Regions from separate parts of the Homo sapiens genome. Here region 1 is linked to region 2. The links are contacts of gene promoters, found by promoter capture Hi-C in blood cells and fetal thymus (Javierre and others, 2016). All regions are on one chromosome and are shown on one strand. Each heading gives the region's core, a stretch centred on a gene start or on the middle of the fragment in contact. The rest is flanking DNA. Distances are from core to core; before and after follow the strand shown.

Region 1 (5,075 bases), core at 2,576-5,075, 220 kb after region 2:
GATGCAGCTGTGGGAGGGGAGGGAAGAGTCTGAGGAGCCACTCTGGCCCCCTCCAAGGTCAGAGGCCAAAGCCTCCCTGCAGCTATGGTGAGTCCCTAGGGCTGGGAATCAGAACCCGATTTTTTCACCTCAATTTCTCCTTGGCTCACAGGCTCTTTTTGGTGCTGGGGTTTCCCCAGCAGCCCAGGGGGCTGACTCCTAGGGCCAGAGCTGCCCAGCCCCTCTGTCAGGCTGCTAGGCTTGGGTCAGTCCCTGCTGAAGACACTCTCCTCCCCACAGTGGAAGGAAGAGCCCATTTCCCAGCAGCGCAGAGGCTGAGGATGGCGGCTGGGTGGGAGTGGTCCCCAGGCCCATTGTGTGGAGCCGATAAAGTACGGAAGCTGAGGTTAGAATGGGAGGAAGCCCAGGGCCCGAGGGCTCTTTCCCACGGGTGGGGGCCTTGGGCATGGCCTTGCCAGGCCAGCATGAGTGCAGCCTGTATGTGCACTGAAGGGTGCCCTGAATGGTGACAGTGGTAACACTCACTGGGCAATGACCACTGGTTACTGAGGTTAGCGTGGGTGCCAGGACTGGGCCTTGGGGTCCAGAGTTTATCCTGGTGAACCTTCCATCAGCCCTGTGAAGTGGCTGTCACTATGCCTAAGCCATAGCTAAAAAAATGGAAGCCGAGAGGCTAGGAAACTTACCCAAAGTTGGTGAAAGCAGGATTTATATCCAGGTCTGGTTCCAAACACTTGCTCTGAAATCACACACCATACGGTGTGTGCCTCTGTGTGCACGTACACACATGTATGTTTACAACTCTGGTGGGGCAGCATTCTCAGGAAGGAGGCAGCACTTCCCGAGTCTTTCACAGGAAACATTAAAATGTGTTCTGACCTTGCATTTTTGAGTAGCAGCATCCTCTGGTGGAGAAACACAGGCCTTGAATTGAGGCAGATTCCAGCTCTGTCACTTACATGCTGGGTCTCCTTGGGGAAGTGACTTAAATTCTCTGAGCCTCTATTTACTTTATAGGTTTATTGTGAGGTTTAATGAGATAGTATCTGAATTATGCCCCATCCAGGGTCTGGCCTATAGTATGAGCTAAATGAAGGTGTAATTCATCCATCCATCCACTCATCCACTCCTTCATCCATCCACCCACCCACCCACCCATCCATCTATTCACCCATGCATTCATCTACCATCCACCCACCCACCCACCCATCCATCTATTCACCCATGCATTCATATATCCATCCACTCATCCATCCATCCACCCATCCATCCATCTATCCACCCACCCACCCATATATTCATCCATCCATCCATCCATCCACTCATCTATCCATCCACCTATCCACATATCCATCCATCCATCCATCCATCCATCCATCCATCCATCCATCCATGCAGGTGGGAGACTCACAAAAGCATCCCCCGAGGAAGGAATTGCACATGGAGATGAAGACCTTCTGTTGGTTGGAAGGCAGAGTTGAGGAGGTTGCTGAAGTAGGGGCCAGGCTGGAGAGATAACTGAAGGAATAACTGAATGGAACTTTCTGCCCTGATCCTAAGATGGTAGATCCAGTCGTGTTACGGAGTTTGAATGTTATCCCGAGGGCACTAGGGAGCCATGGAAAGCTATAAGGCAAGAGAGGTGCACTCAGGCCTGTGTAATGATTTATTTTATACACTGCTGACCATCTCAGGTCTCCTTTGAACTTCAGAATCCTGACTTAATCATTATGATCCTGATTTTAGAAATTAAGGAATAGAGGCTTAGAGAGGGGCAGGGATTGGCCTAGTGACACAGCAGAAGCCCTGCCCTCTCACCTGCTCACTGCCTGCAATGAAGCCTCTGTCCTGAGTGCCAGCCGTCTGGCTTCTCCCCAGTGAGCTGGGGACCTGACTGTCCCAGGAGGAGATCCCTGTGGCCGGAGAGTCTGCCAGGCCGATTCCACTTCATGGCCAGGCTGTTCCCAGCAGTGGGGTTTCCCTCCCTCACCTGTGTGCCGCGGGTGGGGGCTTTGGGGATGGAAGGGGCTGGTGGCAGGGAATGTTGGGTCTCTGAGCCTCTGTTTACTTAGGCAGGAGTTCCTGGGTGCCCAGACTGCATCGTGTCTGTCTTCTCTCCGCAGATGAGCGGGGCTGACACCGTTGGGGATGATGACGAAGCCTCCCGGAAGAGAAAGAGCAAAAACCTGTACGTTGGGAAGATCCCTGGCTTCTGCGCTCCTCTTCCTCCCTTGCCCCAGGGCTTGTCTCTCCTCTAGGGGTCCAGGTGGGGAGAAGAGGTTGTGCCTGGTCCCGCCCACAACCCCAGACAGACACCAAGGAAAAACTGGATCTTGGAACTTTGCAGTGACCCCAAAGTGGGGTCACCTGGGTCCTGAGCATTCTCTCCAAGTGAGGCAAAGTGCTGATTCAGTACCCGGAAGCCACAGTGAACCAGAAGCAACCAGCCCGTTTGCCCTGGCTTTAGCCCAGCTTCTGAGCCAAGCAGGGACCAAGTGACTTCAACAACTCCTTTGCTCCCTCTGGGCCCAAGAGTGACCTGAGAAGGGGTGGAACTGACAGTCATTGGCTCCTCTTTCTCTTCCTGAGCTCCTGAATGCTAATAGTCTCAGGCATTGCCAGGAGGGGGCGCTGCTGGCCCAGCTGCCGAATCCCGCACTCGCCAAGCCTTTCTGGCCACACTCAGGCCTTCTTATACTATAGGGTGTTTGTTAGAGGTGTCAATGAAAAAGATGTGTGTGTGGGTTCTCAGGTCTTCTTCTACCCCCAGGCCTAAGACCCTGGAGACTCGGGGGAGGTATAGGGAGGAGGCAGTGGGGTGCATGCACAGTGACACCTCCAGAGGAAGCCCCTCCCCACCAGGTCCTGTAGCACCCACCACTAGGCAGGAATTGGGCTATAGGGAGGAGCCTCCTGCAACCCTCTTCTCTGGCCTTGACCGTGGGTGGGGTCCACTACCCTAGAAAGCCTTCCTCACCCCAGCTGCCTTGACCTCTCCAGCTTTCTGCAGCAACTGTTGGCTTCTCTTACTCCACAGCCAATTGCATTTTCTTAGCAAGGTGAAATGCATAAACCAAAACAGTCCCTTGCACCAACCATCTTCACTTAACCTTTTGTAGGATGAGAGAGGATCCAGGGGGTGCCAGGACTGTTGAATGTGGTGCTGGAAGTGGGAGGTGTAGGGAAGCAGTGTGTGGCGCAGAGGGCAGGCATCCCGGGTGCTGGAGCAGCCCTGTCTAGCCTCCTTTCAATGTAGGTGCTGCCTTTTGAATTGCCTGAAGCCCACACTTTTTTTTTTTGGAGACAGAGTCTCCTTCTGTCACCCAGGCTGGAGTGCGATCTTGGCTTGCTGCAACCTCCGCCTCCCAAGTTCAAGCAGTTCTTGTCCCTCAGCCTCCCAAGTAGCTGCGATTACAGGTGTGTGCCATCACACCCAGCAAATTTTTTTTGTACTTTTAGTAGAGATGGGGGTTTTGCCATGTTGGCCAGGCTGTTCTCAAACTCCTGGCCTCAAGTGATCTTCCCGCCTCGGCCTCCCAAAGTGCTGGGATTACAGACATGAGCCACCATGCCTGGCCTCTGAAGGTCATACTCTTAAAAGCTTAGACGAAGAGTCTTAGAACATCTACGGTAATAATAAGAATAACCATTAATGTTTATTATGCCCCGCACTGTTCTGTGTGTATTTCATATGTAATCTAATTTAATCTTTACCACTACTTTTATTTTCCGTTCTGTTCTTTCTTATTGACCTTACCCTTATTTTACACGTGAATAAACTACTGTGCAAAGAGGCTAAGTTACATGGCAAGAAAGTGGTGGGGTTGGGACCTGGAGACCTGGCCTGCTGGCTTCTGTTTGAGGAAACAGCTTGACAGAGAAAAAACCTTGATAGGAAACTTGAGAGATCAGGAAACGTGTCAAAGGGCACACAGCTGGTAACTGCTGGAGCTGGGATTTGAACCCAAGACTAGCTCCAGAGCCTGGGATCAGCCTCCCCTGCAGGACTCTCCTTCATTAGACAGGGTGTCTAGGTCTTAGTGCCATTTTAAGCTTGAATAGCATCAGAAGTATAAATGCTTCAAACTTACCAAACCCCCTTGAAAGTTTAATTATTAAATTTCTTTTGCACGTCTTTAGTTATGTGATTTTTGAATAATCAATTTTTCATTTTCATTTTTGGTTTGAGTCAGCATTTTCCATCTTTGGGAGGATGGAGACCAAAACTTAAAGTGAAACATTTATTATTCGAAAATCACAAAACCATGCACACAACATTAAATAATTAAACTTTAAAATGGTGTTTTTGTAAGTTTATAGGACTTGTACTTCTGAAGTTATTCAGGCTTAAAACTACTAAGATGTTGGGGTCCTGCTGTATATTCATGACTGGATGTCGCCAATGCAGGTGACTGAGGCTGAGAGGCCGGCTGGCAGGAGCCATTCTCTGGGAGGTGCCCTGTACAGGGGGTCTAGGGAAAAGAGGGGCGAACATGAGCAAGAGGCATTTAACTCCTTTCTTGCCAGCAGTTTCACCCAGTGCTGAATTCTGCTGCCTCCTTGGGGACCGGCAAGGCTAAAAATGGTTCTTGGCTAAAAATAGCCAGTCCTGCCACCCCGGTGGTGGGCAGTGCCTCCCCTGGCTCCCTCCTTCCCTTTCAGCAATTTGCTGACTTGTCCCCCACCCCCCACCACTGTCTCCCTGCTGCCATGGTAACGAGGAGGCCAGTCACAAATAGCTGGGACTGGCTTCCTGCCGGGGCGGCCCCAGAGGCTGTCCCTTGCAGACACATGCCCCTTTCACGGCTCCCTCTCAGGGTTGGCCAGAAGGAATTTTTTTTTCCGCTCCCCCTCCTGGTCCCTCCCATTTCCTGGCTCCTCCTGTCTGAGTCCCAGCCCCGGCTTGTGCCTGGGAGTCCAGTCATCAGGCCAGGATTCCAGAGAGCGTGTGTGGCTGCAGCCTGCACCGTTGCTGCCCGCTGCCCAGGACGCGGGGTGGGGGACAGGAGCCAGAGTGGTGCCTCCTACAGACCAATCTGCGGCCCCAAGGTGGGGGGCCCTACAGAGATGCTCCG
Region 2 (5,122 bases), core at 1-2,500:
GAGGCTGGTGCAGCTTCTTTCCCCAGACAGAGCTGATCCCAGACAAGGCCGTCCCCTTGAAACCTGAGGGGCCAGAGTTCAAAGTACGGCTAAGTTGATACTTAGGGAAGGGCGTCACTGGTAAATCTGGGGGAGCCTTGGAGGAAGTTTGTCCAGGAAATGAATTAAGGAGACTCATCCAAAGATCCTCTCATTTTGCAGGTGGGTAGACAGAGACCCAGTGAGGGGCAGTAATTTACCCCCAAATCACACAGGGAGTCACATTGGCACAGCTAAGACTAGAGCAGAGGGCTCTGGCTCCTGACCCACGGCTTTTTTTTTTTTTTTTTTTTTTTTTTGAGGCGGAGTTTCGTTCTTGTTGCCCAGGCTGAAGTGCAATGGCGCGATCTCGGCTCACTGCAACCTCCGCCTCCCAGGTTCAAGCGATTCTCCTGCCTCAGCCTCCCAAGTAGCTGGGATTACAGGCATGCGCCACCATCCCCGGCTCCTTTTTTTTTTGTATTTTTAGTAGAGACGGGGTTTCTCCATGTTGGCCAGGCTGGTCTCGAACTCCCGACCTCAGCCTCCCAAAGTGTTAGGATTACAGGCGTGAGCCACTATACCCGGCCGGCTTTTTTTCTTTTTTTTTTTTTTTGAGACAGAGTCTCACTCTGTCACCCAGGTGTACAGTGGTGCGATCTCGGCTCACTGCAACTTCCGCCTCCCGGATTCAAGCGATTCTCCTTCCTTAGCCTCCAGAGTAGCTGGGACTACAGGCGCGCGCCACCACACCTGGCTAATTTTTGTATTTTTAGTGGAGACGGGGTTTCAACTATGTTAGCCAGGCTGGTCTCGAACTCCCGAACTCGTGATCCTCCCCCGCCCCACCCCGCCCCCCGGCCTCCCAAAGTGCTGGGATTACGGTAAAGGCGTGAGCCACCGCGCCCGGCAGGGCTTTTTCGATTTCTAAAACCGCGGGTTTGGGGCTCTGCGCTGCAGGCACGAACTGCTCACCTTTTCTCCCCACCTCCAGGGCTCGGGAAAGGCGAAGTCCAGGAGCCCGGACCTGACGCAGAATGTCTATAGCTGCCGTCGGCAGCGTGAGCTGGGGCGGCGGTCCTAGGGGCCTTGGCCGCGGCCGACCCCTTGGGTCCCCTTCTCAGCTGTAGGGCGTCCACGGCTCCGGGCCGGTTCCTGGGCCCAGGACCCACCTGACTCACAAGGAAGCAGATTGAAAACGCAGCCGCAAGGCCCGCGAGCTCGGGCGGAGGTGCGCAAGCGCCGGGCGGTGGGGCGGGGATCGCGCGGGCCGCCCCTCCCTACCATCCCGACCCGCCTCTGTCCCCGCCCCGTCCCCGCCCTTATCCCCCTCACCTTCGCCCTCTCCCGCCCCATCTCCCGTCGCCCTCGCCGTCCCCTCTCCCTCCTTCGTCTCACTGTGCACCTCTCTGCGCCCCTGTCACCCGCCTTCACTGCGCGCCTCCGTTACCCTGCACCATCTACGCCCCTTATTCCCTCCCCGCACCCTCTGAGGTTCCCCAGCCCGCACCCTTCCGCTCCGCAGCCCCCGTTACCAGCACCTTCTCCGCCCTGTCTGCGCACCCCCTGCCCGCCACACCGCCGCTCCTCACCGCTGTCTCCGCTCCCCATCCCCAACCCCGGCTCCTGGCCTCCTTTGGATCGGGAAACCCCCGAGAAGTACCCAGGTTGAGTGGGAGGAGGGGAGTTGGGACCCAGCCTGGCTTGCTTAGTGTTGTGTGAACCTGGGCAAGGCCCAGCCCCTCTCTGGTCTCAGGGTCCCCAGTTGGTATTGGAGGGAATTGCTTTCAGTTGGAAACTTGTTAAATCCAAGATAACTTGGTGAGGGTAGAGTCCGCTGCAGTAACCTGCTTTTTTATTCTTTCTCTTTTTTTTTTTTTGAGACGGAGTCTCCCTCTGTCGCTCAGGCTGGAGTGCAGTGGCGCGATAGCCCACTGCAACCCCCGCCTCCCAGTTTCTTGCGATTCTCCTGCCTCAGACTCCCCAGTAGCTGGGATTACAGGTGTGTGCCACCACACCCAACTAATTTTTGTATTTTTAGTAGAGACAGGGTTTCGCCGTGTTGGCCTGGCTAGTCTTGAACTCCTGACCTCAGGTGATCCGCCCACCTCAGCCTCCCAAAGTGCTGGGATTACAGGCATGAGCCACCGCACCTGGCCTCTTTTTGTTTTTAAGAACCCTGTGGTACCATCCTGGCTAACACGGTGAAACCCTGTCTCTGCTAAAAATACAAAAAATTAGCCGGGCATGGTGGCAGGTGCCTGTAGTCCCAGCTACTCGGGAGGCTGAGGCAGGAGAATGGCATGAACCCGGGAGGCGGAGCTTACAGTGAGCCAAGATTCTGCCACTGCACAATATTTGCCTGGGCAAAGAGCGAGACTGTGTCCCCAAAAAAAAAAAAAAAAAAAAAGATCCCTGTGGTAAGAGCCTGGAATCCTAACCACTAGACCACCAGGGAGCTTTTTTATTCTTTTGAAGAATAAAAAAAGAGTTTTATCTTTGTTTGCAAAAGTAATGTATGTTGGCTGGGCGCGGTGGCTCACGCCTGTAATGCCAGCACTTTGGGAGGCTGAGGTGGGTGGATCACCTGAGGTCAGGAGTTCAAGACTAGCCTGGCCAACACGGTGAAACCCCGTCTCTACTAAAAATACAAAATTAGGCGAGGTGGTTCATGCCTGTATTCCCAGCTACTTGGGAGGCTGAGGAAGGAGAATCGCTTGAACCGGGGAGGTGGAGGTTGCAGTGAGCCAAGATCAGGCTACTGTATTCCAGCCTGGGTAACAAGAGCAAAACTCCATCTCAAAAAAATAAAAAAATAAAAAAATAATAAATAAATAAGGTATGCATGTAATGCATGTTAGTCTCAAAAAACTAAAAAATACAAACATATGAGAGTTGGCCATGCAGAGGGGAAGGATCTGAGTGATGGTTAAGGGACCCCCTGATGCAAAGGCCTCCAGGCAAGAAAGTTTTTTTTCCGAACCAAAGAGACACTGAGGAACTATAGGAATGTTGCTAGCCAGGGGGTTTGGGCCAAAGAGGCTGGGGAGGTACCGGAGGGGAAGCTTTGAGATACTTCTGTGCCTGTGCTCTGTTCCTCTTTAGTCTCATCACCTTGCACTATGACCTTAGGCAAGACAGGTCATAAGACAGCCCCCACCACCCAGGCCCCTTTGAGAGGGTCTTGCCGCATACCCTGGAGGAAGGAACACTGCACAGAGAGGCCAAGAAGAATCTACACAGATGGGTCTTGGTGGGTTTCTCTATTCAGTCTATTAGCGTTTTGTGCAATCCTGTTTCTACATGTGAAGGGGTGGCCTGCCCCTCCACACCTGTGGGTATTTCTCATCAGGTGGGACGAGAGACTGAGAAAAGAAATAAGACACCGAGACAAAGTATGGAGAAAGAACAGTGGGCCCAGGAGACCGGCGCTCAGCATACGGAGGACCTGCTCTGGCACTGGTCTCTGAGTTCCCTCAGTATTTATTGATTACTATTTTCACTATCTCAGCAAGAAGAATGCGATAGGAGAGCGGGCTGATAGTGAGGAGAAGGTCAGCAAGAAAACATGTGAGCAAAGGAATCTGAGTCACAAATAAGTTCAAGGGAAGGTACTATGCCTGGATGTGCACACAGGCCAGATTTATGCTTCTCTCCACCCAAACATCTCAGTGGAGAAAAGAATAACAAAGCAGCATTGCTGCCAACATGTCTCGCCTCCCGCCACGGCGCGGTTTTTCTCCTGTCTCAGAATTGAACAAATGTATAATCGGGTTTTATACCGAGACGTTCAGTTTCAGGGGCAGGCAGGAGACAGAGGCCTTCCTCTTATCTCAACTTCAAGAGGCCTTCCTCTTTTACTAATCCTCCTCAGCACAGACCCCTCGCGGGTGTCGGGCTGGGGGACGGTCAGGTCTTTCCCATCCCACGAGGCCATATCTCAGGCTGTCACATGGGGAGAAACCTTGGACAATACCAGGCTTTCCAGGGCAGAGGTCCCTGCGGCTTTCCGCAGTGTATTGTGCCCCTGGTTTATCGAGAATGGAGAATGGCGATGACTTTTACCAAGCATACTGCCTGTAAACATTTTGTTAACAAGGCACATCCTGCACAGCCCTAGATCCCTTAAACCTTGATTCCATACAACACATGTTTCTGTGAGCTCAAGGTTGGGGCAAAGTTACAGATTAACAGCATCTCAGGGCAAAGCAATTGTTCAGGGTACAGGTCAAAATGGAGTTTCTTATGTCTCCCTTTTCTACATGGACACAATAACAGTCTGATCTCTCTTTTCCCTACATACACGGCCATGTACACTTCGTTGAACCTAAGCATAAAAATGGACAGTTTCCTCTGTATCTGTGGCTCTTCATTCTGAAGGCTCCCATGTCACAAAAAAACTATGATCAAATAAATGTATATGCTTTTTCTCCTATTAAAAAAAATACAGACATATTCAGGGTTAGGCATAGTGGCTCATGCCTGAAATCCTAGCACTTTGGAAGGCTAAGGTGGAAGGATCCCTTGAGCTCAGGGGTATGAGACCAGCCTAGGAAACAAAGTGAGACCCCATCTTGTTAAAAAATAATAACAGGCTGGGTGTGGTGGCTCACGTCTGTAATTGCAGCACTTTAGGAGGCCGAGACCAGTGGATTACTTGAGGTCAGGAGTTTGAGACCAGCCTGACCAACATGGTGAAACCCCATCTCTACTAAAAATACAAAAATTAGTGGGGCATGGTGGCAGGTGCCTGTAATCCCAGCTACTCGGGAGGCTGAGGCACAAGAATTGTTTGAACCTGGGAGGCAGAGGTTGTAGTGAGCTGACATCACAGCATTGCACTCCAGCCTGGGTGACAGAGCAAGACTCTGTCTCAAAAAATAATAATAATAATGCAAAATACAAACGTGTACAAAATAAAAAGCCAGCCCCCCACCAACACCCAACCTCATTCATTGACCACCTAACATCTGTGGGCTCTGTGTCCCCTGTCCTTCTCTGAGGATTCAGTGGGAAACAAGGTGGTTCCTGCCTGCATGGGGCATGGGAGGGGCAGACAACCATTGAGTAGATAAATAAACAAAGTGATTTCAGAGAGAGAAGT

The links. Contacts are between HindIII fragments. The CHiCAGO score rates a contact against its expected background, and 5 or more counts as called.
Region 1: a contact is called between a fragment that was not itself captured here and the fragment with the promoter of HDHD3 in region 2, in 1 of 17 cell types (total B cells). The highest score is 5.2, in total B cells.

The regions. Positions count from the first base shown.
Region 1 is chr9:113,589,210-113,594,284 of GRCh38, forward strand. RGS3 (regulator of G protein signaling 3) reads left to right here. Exons shown (of 23, transcript NM_001394167.1): 19 at 2,124-2,188. Among named protein-coding and RNA genes, the nearest start is that of RGS3, 130 kb to the left of the region's middle. RefSeq lists enhancers at 1-259, 260-759. The HindIII fragment of the contact is 452 bases long and covers 3,600-4,051 here.
Region 2 is chr9:113,375,736-113,380,857 of GRCh38, forward strand. HDHD3 (haloacid dehalogenase like hydrolase domain containing 3) reads right to left here and starts at 1,251. Exons shown (of 3, transcript NM_001304509.2): 1 at 994-1,251. RefSeq lists a silencer at 1,103-1,622. The HindIII fragment of the contact is 9,890 bases long and covers 1-3,081 here.